3 separate regions of the Homo sapiens genome follow, and all the other regions are linked to region 3. The links are contacts of gene promoters, found by promoter capture Hi-C in human tissues and cell types (Jung and others, 2019). All regions are on one chromosome and are shown on one strand. Each heading gives the region's core, a stretch centred on a gene start or on the middle of the fragment in contact. The rest is flanking DNA. Distances are from core to core; before and after follow the strand shown.

Region 1 (3,055 bases), core at 157-2,656, 350 kb before region 3:
ACATGCATTCTGTAGAAGGGGGTGCGATTTGTATCACAGACATCACAGATTTGTACATGTATTATTTCAAATTTCCAAGAGACACAGTTGAATGTTTTGCTTTTACAAGATGAGTCTGACACAGGGAAGAGTCTCTGGGAAGAGCCCTTTTCCAGTTTGCACAAAGGCACTCTGAGCTAGTGATGGTTCCACTTCTCTCTCCCCACCACCCACATGGGTCTTCTGGGATGGAAGGGTAGAGACCCCAGGGATGAGAGAGACACAAGAGACCTAGGTAGTCAGGTGGTCATAGTCTAGATAGCGTGATCCAGTGTGGCAAAGACATCACACACACACACACACACACACACACACACACACACACACACACACACTTTTTAGAGGAAGCAAACACCTCTAGAAGGTTCCAGCCCTACTGCAGGGACTTCTGTTCTTGCCTGGACCCTAGGAGAACATAGAACACCTTTGCAGTGTCAGGCACGACCATGGTCCTTGGGGGTGTGGCTTCCTAGGCTAGGGGCTTGGATGCCACTTGGCTTCAGCCCTGAGGACATCATCAGTAGCCTGCCTGGTATGGCTGAGGGGTATCTGACCCTGGAGCTGGGTGCCCTATCAACGTGGCCCTGTGGGAAGGTGGCTTCCCTGTCTTGACAGTTGCACATGGTGGTTATTCTGTGTATTAGTCCATTTTAATGCTGCTGATAAAGACATACCCGAGACTGAGCAGTTTACAAAAGAAAGAGGTTTAATTGGACTTACAGTTCCACATGGCTGGGCAAGCCTCACAATCATGGCAGAAGGCAAGGAAGACCAAGTCACGTCTTACATGGATGGCAGCAGGCAAAGGAGAGAGAGCTTCTGCAGGGGAATGCCTCATTTTAAAACCATCAGATCTCGTGAGACTTGTTCACTATCATGAGAACAGCACGGGAAAGACTTGCCCCCATGATTCAGTTACCTCCCACTGGGTCCCTCCCACAACATGTGGGAATTATGGGAGCTACAATTTAAGATGAGATTTGAGTGGGGACACAGCCAAACCATATCACTCTCTCTCGCACCTGCATTGCCATTTGCCTCATTGCTTCCCGAGCTGATCTCCTGTAGTTGGAACACACACCTGCACGTGCACCTGAGCAAGTGTATGCAGGCACACACACCAGTCTGGAGTGTCAGCTTCCTTCTCTCTGCCCTGTTCCTGGTCGATTCCTTACTACATTTCCGACTTTGCAGGAAAGGGGTTCCCTTGCATTCCTTTCCAGAACTAGGCCTATTGGCCACTTTCTCCAAATTGCACTCTCCCCTCTGCAGCCCCCCACACCTCCGCAGAGCCACAGTGTTTGCCAACGGGTCTCTGCTGCTGACCCAGGTCCGGCCACGCAATGCAGGGATCTACCGCTGCATTGGCCAGGGGCAGAGGGGCCCACCCATCATCCTGGAAGCCACACTTCACCTAGCAGGTGAGTCTCTGGGTCTGGGGTGCTGATGTGGGAGGCTGCCTTTAACATTTTTGGCACATAGAGATTTAGGCTTCTGTTTTTACTCAGCCGCTTGGAGGGCAGGGGAAGAAAAGGATGCTGGGAGTAGGAAGAGGATATGCAGAGGGCTGCAGGGGAGGGTTTGTGCTGGGAAAGGGCCTAGGCTTGCTGTGGGAGAACATCATGTACCCTGAGACCCACAATAATTGGGCCATTCCTCCTACTTATGTCCTTGCAGAGATTGAAGACATGCCGCTATTTGAGCCACGGGTGTTTACAGCTGGCAGCGAGGAGCGTGTGACCTGCCTTCCCCCCAAGGGTCTGCCAGAGCCCAGCGTGTGGTGGGAGCACGCGGGAGTCCGGCTGCCCACCCATGGCAGGGTCTACCAGAAGGGCCACGAGCTGGTGTTGGCCAATATTGCTGAAAGTGATGCTGGTGTCTACACCTGCCACGCGGCCAACCTGGCTGGTCAGCGGAGACAGGATGTCAACATCACTGTGGCCAGTGAGCACCTTTGCCCTGAAGGTCAAGGAGAGGTGGAGGGGAACACAGGTCTGGGTGTGATGGACAGAGGCTTCCCTGGTACTCACCTGAGGTCCTCTCAGTTCTGGGCCCTGCAGGCTTGGGAATCAGTTCACTACTGGGAGTCGGTGTAGACAGTAGAGAGCCAGGCACAGGGGTTAGGGTGGGTGCTCCAGAGGAAATAGTGACAGCCCTCACAGAAAAATGGTCCTCTGGGTACAGAGGAAAGAGCAATAGACTAGGAATCTAGAGACCTGGGTCCCACTATGCTCCCAATGCACAGAGTGACGATGGTAGCAAATCACCCACCTTACTGGGGTTCAGTCTCCTCATCCATAAAATGGAGCCAGTAATCTACTACCTACCCCACAAGGTGGTTGGAAAGGTCAAATGAAGTAGATGAAAATGATTTTTCTTTTTTTCTTTTTTGGGAGGTAATAGTGGACAAAATTATAGGTGATTTTTAATTTGTTTTAGTTTGTTATGCTTTCCAAATTTCTTTACTAAACATATTACTTATGAAAAAAAAGAGGGGGAGAAAAGCAAGACATATGACTGAAAGTACACATGATAAACCCTTTATATCAGGCTGGGCGCGGTGGCTCATGCCTGTAATCCCAGCACTTTGGGAGGCCGAGCCGGGCGGATCACAAGGTCAGGAGTTGGAGACCAGCCTGACCAACATGGTGAAACCCCATCTCTACTAAAAATACAAAAATTAGCTGGGCGTGGTGGGGCACACCTGTAATCCCAGCTACTCAGGAGGCTGAGGGAGGAAAATTGCTTGAACCCAGGAGGCAGAGGTTGCAATGAGCTGAGATCGCACCGTTGCTCTTCAGCCCGGGCAACAGAGTGAGACTCCATCTCAAAACAAAACAAAACAAACCTTATATCCTCACTACAGGCATAGGGATTTATTTGTTTACTTATTTCTTTATACCATGCCTTGTTCCAAACCTTTTGTGGTAGTTTAAAAGGATACACAATAAAAATTACAATATGCACACAGAGACACACATACATACAAACTATTTTGCAATCTGCTTCTTCCACT
Region 2 (2,866 bases), core at 9-2,508, 450 kb before region 3:
TGGGAAGTCAGATCAGAAACCCCTCCCACTTAAATCTGGGCCCCTCAAGGATGACAAGATCATTTAGTGGGTGAACCAATCCCACAACTCCCCTACTTGGCTTTGGTTTTGGATGCAAGGGATGTTAAGAGGTAGGGATATAAAGCTTCCATGGTAATATACAAGCACAGCTGGCCTTCAGTACTGTTTGGGACAAGAGTTTATAACCCATGTGGTCTGGAAAATCCTCAGGCTGATAACTTAGTTTAAAATAGTCTCAAGTAGGCTGGGCGTGGTGGCTCACACCTGTAATCCCACCACTTTGGGAGGCCGAGGCAGGCGGATCACCTGAGGTCAGGAGTTCAAGACCAGCCTGGCCAACATGGTGAAACCCCATCTCTACTAAAAATACAAAATTAGCTGGGTGTGGTGGTGGGTGCCTGTAATCCCAGCTACTCAGGAGGCTGAGGTAGGATAATCACTTGAGCCTGGGAGGTAGAGGTTGCAGTGAGCCAAGATCGCACCACTGCACTCCAGCCTGGGCAAAAAGAGTGAAATCACCACCGCGCCCCCCCCCCCAAAAAAAAATGGCCAGGCATGGTGGCTCACACCTGTAATCCCAGCACTTTGGGAGGCAGAGGCAGGTGGATCACGAGGTCAGGGGTTCGAGACCAGCCTGACCAACATGGTGAAACCCTGTCTCTACTAAAAATACAAAAATTAGCCGGGTGTGGTGGTGGGCGCCTGTAATCCCAGCTACTCAGGAGGCTGAAGCAGGAGAATTGCTTGAACGCGGGAGGCGGAGGTTGCAGTGAACCAAGATCGCGCCACTGCACTCCAGCCTGGGCGACAGAGCGAGACTCCGTCTCAAAAAAAAAAAAAGTCTCAAGTAGATAGTGTCTCCAGGGTCCTGGCAGAAGCAAATGTAATCCTTTCTTGAGGATTGTTTTTTTTTTGTTTGTTTTTTGTTTTTGAGATGGAGTCTCACTCTGTCGTCCAGACTGGCAAAAATTAAAATGTGAGAAGTATAAAATAAAAAATACAAAATGTCTTATGTTTAAAGAAAAAGTGTGACAAATGAATATCAAAAGGTACTAAACTGGTGTGATTAAAAAGTAAAACTTAAGGCCGGTCACGGTGGCTCACGCCTGTGTTCCCAGCACTTTGGGAGGCCAAAGCGGGTGGATCACGAGGTCAGGAGATGGAGACCATCCTGGCTAGTACAGTGAAACCCTATCTCTACTAAAAATACAAAAAATTAGCCAGGCGTGGTGGCGGGTGCCTGTAGTCCCAGCTACTCTGGAGGCTGAGGCAGGAGGATGGCATGAACCTGGGAGGCAGAGCTTGCAGTGAGCCGAGATCGTGCCACTGCACTCCAGCCTGGGGAACAGAGCGAGACTCCATCTCAAAAAAAAAAAAAAAAAAAGTAAAACTTAAAAAGAAAACCTTTTAAAAATGAAAAGTAGGGCCAGGCATGGTGGCTCGTGCCTGTAATCCCAGCACTTTGGGAGGCTGAGGTGGGTGGATCGCCTGAGGTTGGGAGTTCGAGACTAGCCTGGCCAACATGGTGAAACCCCGTCTCTACTAAAAATACAAAAAATTAGCCGGGCGTGGTGGCGCATGCCTGTAATCCTAGCTACTTGGGAGGCTGAGGCAGGAGAATTGCTTGAACCTAGGAGGCGGAGGTTGCGGTGAGCCAAGATTGCGCCACTGCACTCCAGCCTGGGCAACAAGAGTGATACTCCACCTCAGAAAAAAAAAAGTACACTACGAGAAGTTAGAAACTTTATGGTTAAGCAGCAGATTAGACTTCTCCCTAAAGGGAGAATGAACTGGAAATAGATCTGAAGTTACACAGAGAGAGCACTGACATACAGAGAAGTGGAAACTAAGGAAAAGAGGTTAAAAAACATGGAAGAGGCTGGGTGTAGTTGCTGACACCTGTAATCCCAACTTTTTGGGAGGCATAGAGAGGACTGCTTGAGGTCCTCAGTTGGGGACCAGCCTGGGCAACATAAGGAGACCTTGTCTCTAAAAAAAAATTAAAAAATCAGACATGTGGCACATGCCTATAGTCCCAGCTTCTCTGGAGGCTCAGGCTGGAGGATTGCTTGACCCCAGGAACTTGAGGTTGCAGTGAGCTATGATGGCATCACTGCACTCCAGCCTGGGTGACAGAGCAAGATCCTGTCTATAAAACAACAAAATGAAGATAAATGTGAGACTTGACAATCAAAATTTCAGGAAAGAATATTTCAAAGAGGCTGGGCATTTTCTAGAATTTTTTTTGAGATGGGGTCTCCCTCTGTCGCCCAAGCTGGAGTGCAGTGGCACGATCTTGGCTCACTGTAACCTCTTCCTCCCAGGTTAAAGCTATTCTTCTGCCTCAGCTCCCTGAGCAGCTGGTATTTCAGGTGTATGCCACCACACCTGGCTAATTTTTTTTTTTGTAGGGATGGGGTTTCACCGTGTTGGCCAGCTGGTCTCAAACTCCTGACCTCAAGTAATCCACCCACCTAGGCCTCCCAAAGTGATAGGTTTACAGGTGTGAGCCACCGCACCTGGCCTAGTTTTTTTTTTGTTTTTTTTGTTTTTTTTTTAAGGCTAGATAAATCATAAGCCAGGAACATTTGAAAGTCTATCCAGCCTGGGCAACATGGTGAAACTGCATCTCTACAAAGAATACTCAGGCGGCTGAGGCAGGAGGATCACTTGAGCCTGGGAGGTCGAGGCAGTGAGCCGTGATTGTGCCACCCGTACTCCAACCTGGGTGACAGAGCAAGACCCTTTCTTAAAGAAAGAATGCCTACCTTAAAAGCAGCTCTATGCCCCCAGTTAGGAGACTGAGGTGGGACAATCACTTGAGACTAGGAGTTCAAAGCTGTAG
Region 3 (3,135 bases), core at 168-2,667:
GTGCAGTGGCTCACACCTGTAATCTCAGCACTTTGGGAGGCTGAGGCAGGTGGATCACTTGAGGTCAGGAGTTCGAGACCAGCCTGGCCAACATGGTGGAATGGTGGAACTCCCATCTCTACTAAAAATACAAAAAATTAGCTGGCATGCGCCTGTAATCCCAGCTACACAGGAAACTGAGGTGGGAGAATCACTTGAACCCGGGAGGCGGAGGTTGCAGTGAGCCGAGATCGCACCACTACACTCCAGCCTGGGCAACAGAGTGAGACCCTGTCTCAAAAATTAATTAATTAATTAAACAAACAGAATAAAAAAAATCTATTGAATACCTACTATGCCAGGCATTGTTTTAGACACTGGGGATACTGTGATGAGCAAGAAAACATCCCAGACCTCTGGAGTTTGCTTTGTAGTGGGGAGATGATCAATAAACAATAAATATTTAATATAATGTCAGATAATGATAAGTACTATGAATGAAAACATTAAAGCAGGGTAAAGGAGAATAGGGATGCTGATTTAGATTGAGTGGCCAAGGAAGGCTTCTCTAAAGTGATGACACTTGAGCAAAGACACAAATGAGAGTCAATATTTGGAGGAAGAACATTCCAGGTATGGGGAATAGCAAATTTAGAGACCCTGAGGCAGAAATATGCTTAATGCATTGGAGGAAAACATGCCATTTATTCATTAGGCAATTATTGTGTGCCAAGCACCTGCTAGGGAGTATGAAGATGCAATCAAACATAGTTTTTGCCCTGAAGAAGCAGCAGGGCAAAAGTGGTATAACATGTAAATAAATAATTACACTGCACGGGACAGCTACAGTAAAGCTATGTACAAGTTGCTAGTGATGCCCAGCAAAAGGAGCACTAAAGGGAAATCTTTCTGGGGGAGGTGACATTTTAGCTGATGGTTTGAAGGAATAGGAGGAATTGATGATGCAAAGGAGGAGGAGAGAGATTAGACATCTTAAGGCCCGATGTCCTGAAAACAAAGGACAATTTGGGAACCTGAAGTTCCCAGGAGAGGCAAAAAATGAGGCTGATGAAGGTGGAAGAGCCTGGATCATGCGGATCTTTGAATGCCAAACTGAAAAGCTGGTTTTATTCTCTGGATGACGGGGAACCAGTAGCACGATTCTCTCTCCCACTGTATCTTTGAGATGTGTTCCCCTATTCTTTTTTTTTTTTTTTTTCTTTCAGTACTGGATTCTTTCCCCGCTTCCCGCTATTGCCCTGCTCCTGACACCTCCTTCCTTCTGTGGCCAGTCCTCCAATCCCTGCTTTCAGGAGAGCCCCATTTTTCACCATCACCTACCTAGTGTCCCACCTCCCCAACCCGAGGCCCCGCCCCCATGGCCCCGCCTCAGATGACGCGACACGCCAAGTGCGTGGGGATTCCCGCGGCCCTGGCCACTACCCGGCCTGCCCCGCGGCAAGATGGCGGCCTGAACGCAGCTGGCAGCGGCGGAAAGTTTGTTGTGGGGTTGGAGTAGTCGGGCGGGGAAGCCAGAGTTGGGGAGGATTGCGGGGGCCCTAGCCTGTAGTAGGGGCGAAGGGGGTACTGGCTCCAGGGTTGAAAAGAGGAGATGGAATGGAGTAAGGTCCGAGGCGGAGAGGAAAAAAAGGAGCTGGGGCGGACCGGGGCCCTAGGGTCCAGTGGCAGCCCTAGGGGAGGGGGATTTGGGGGCGGGGCAGCCAGAAGTAGGTGTTGTGCAGGCCCTGGAGAAGCAGAGTCACAAGTTGGAGGAAAATTTCTTAGCCGCGAATAAAGAAGCCTGGAGCGTGGGATAGAGGCCCGACTGTATCTGGCCGGCCAGAGGGGAAAGGGATCTTTCTAGTAGAGTGGGATAGTGAGGAAGAGAGATCTGGAGGATGCCGGGCAGATCTGCTAAGGAGGGAACTAAAGCCAGTCAAATGACCCTCTTCTAGGCTTAGATCAGCCTTTCCACAGCTGTTAGCAGCATCTGCCCCAATTTCAGCTGAAGATTCAGGTGCCCCAGGGACTGGAAGAAATTACAGTGCCTACTTGGAAAGAAGAAGAGATAGCGACTTGCCCCAGTCCAACCCCAGAGCGGGTAAGGTGGCTTCCAGTGACAGGTTTCTGGCTGGCATGCTCCCTGGGAGGAGGATGCATGGGCTTAGAGTGATGCCAAGAAACATTTGGTCTGAAAAGGGCTCACTTTTATAGAGTTTGTCCTTTGTCTGAGGTCCTTAAGTTAGTGTTTGGCGTAGATTGCAGGCTGACTTTTGAGAGTTGGTGTAGAATTAAGCCTTGTGTGCCTTCACCTATGCAAGTAAACCTGGACAGAGGCCTAGAGACCAGGCCGAAGGATGTTAACACATCCCTGTCACAAGCAGTTTCCTACATGCTCATTGTTTCTGCTTCAATATCCCCATCACTTCTTCACTTTGGCGTCCTGCCTGGAAGTGGAGATTTGTGGGTGACAGATGGTGGGGAGTCACGAGAAAACAAATTCTGATCGTGTTCACTGACCATTTAGGTACCTGCTGTCACTGACTCCTGAATTCATTCTCGCTGTGTGTCTACTTTTGCTTTTTTGGTAAGAAGGGCTCATTAGTGTTCCTCTGGGGATGTGGATTTTGGTGGGGGTATCAGAGGTGAGGGAAAGGCAGGTTGGGATTAGAGAGAAAAAATGTAGATCAGTTTCTGGTAAGAGATCAAGTGGACTGATGTAAAGCTCTGGGAATGTTTAGCACCGCACTGCCTATCCTTGAGACCCCTAATATTTGAGAGCTACTTTACAGTTGGACAAGTGTGGTGATGCAAAGAAAGGATCATGGAACTTGCTCTTTTCTTTTCTGGTAGTTTTTTTCTCTCCTTTGTAATCTTCCCATCAAACCACTTTTGAAAAATATCAGTCTCAGTAGCCAAACTAAGCATGGCCTGAGAGGTAGTGGATTTGGTGTTGGAGAGAAAGGAAAGGGACTGGAGCCAGAGAACACAGTGAATGTGGCCTTCACTTCCTTTGGTGAGTGTTTTGCCCTAGCCAGAGTTGGGAGTAGCCTTCTTATTGAAGCCTGCTTCAGGATCAGCATCGCTTCATGGTGGACTAGGATGGTTTGATCTAGAACTCTTCATTTACTGTCTGCTCTGTACCTGTCCCCCCAA

Evidence for each region. The method cuts DNA at HindIII sites, captures the fragments that hold promoters and counts their contacts. A contact is called where the count stands out against the background at its distance.
Region 1: a fragment that was not itself captured here is called in contact with the fragment with the promoter of TJAP1 in region 3 in 1 of the 25 tissues and cell types used here (liver).
Region 2: a fragment that was not itself captured here is called in contact with the fragment with the promoter of TJAP1 in region 3 in 2 of the 25 tissues and cell types used here (lymphoblastoid cells and pancreas).

Annotation. Positions count from the first base shown.
Region 1 is chr6:43,130,705-43,133,759 of GRCh38, forward strand. PTK7 (protein tyrosine kinase 7 (inactive)) reads left to right here. Exons shown (of 20, transcript NM_002821.5): 6 at 1,312-1,460; 7 at 1,717-1,983. Among named protein-coding and RNA genes, the nearest start is that of SRF, 39 kb to the right of the region's middle. RefSeq lists enhancers at 1,361-1,862, 1,863-2,362. The HindIII fragment of the contact is 9,413 bases long and covers 1-3,055 here.
Region 2 is chr6:43,030,020-43,032,885 of GRCh38, forward strand. No RefSeq gene overlaps it. Among named protein-coding and RNA genes, the nearest start is that of RRP36, 9.8 kb to the left of the region's middle. The HindIII fragment of the contact is 7,304 bases long and covers 1-2,866 here.
Region 3 is chr6:43,476,153-43,479,287 of GRCh38, forward strand. It overlaps TJAP1 (tight junction associated protein 1), which reads left to right and starts at 1,418. Exons shown (of 11, transcript NM_001350562.2): 1 at 1,418-1,476; 2 at 1,935-2,080. RefSeq lists an enhancer at 1,768-2,561. The HindIII fragment of the contact is 19,262 bases long and covers 1-3,135 here.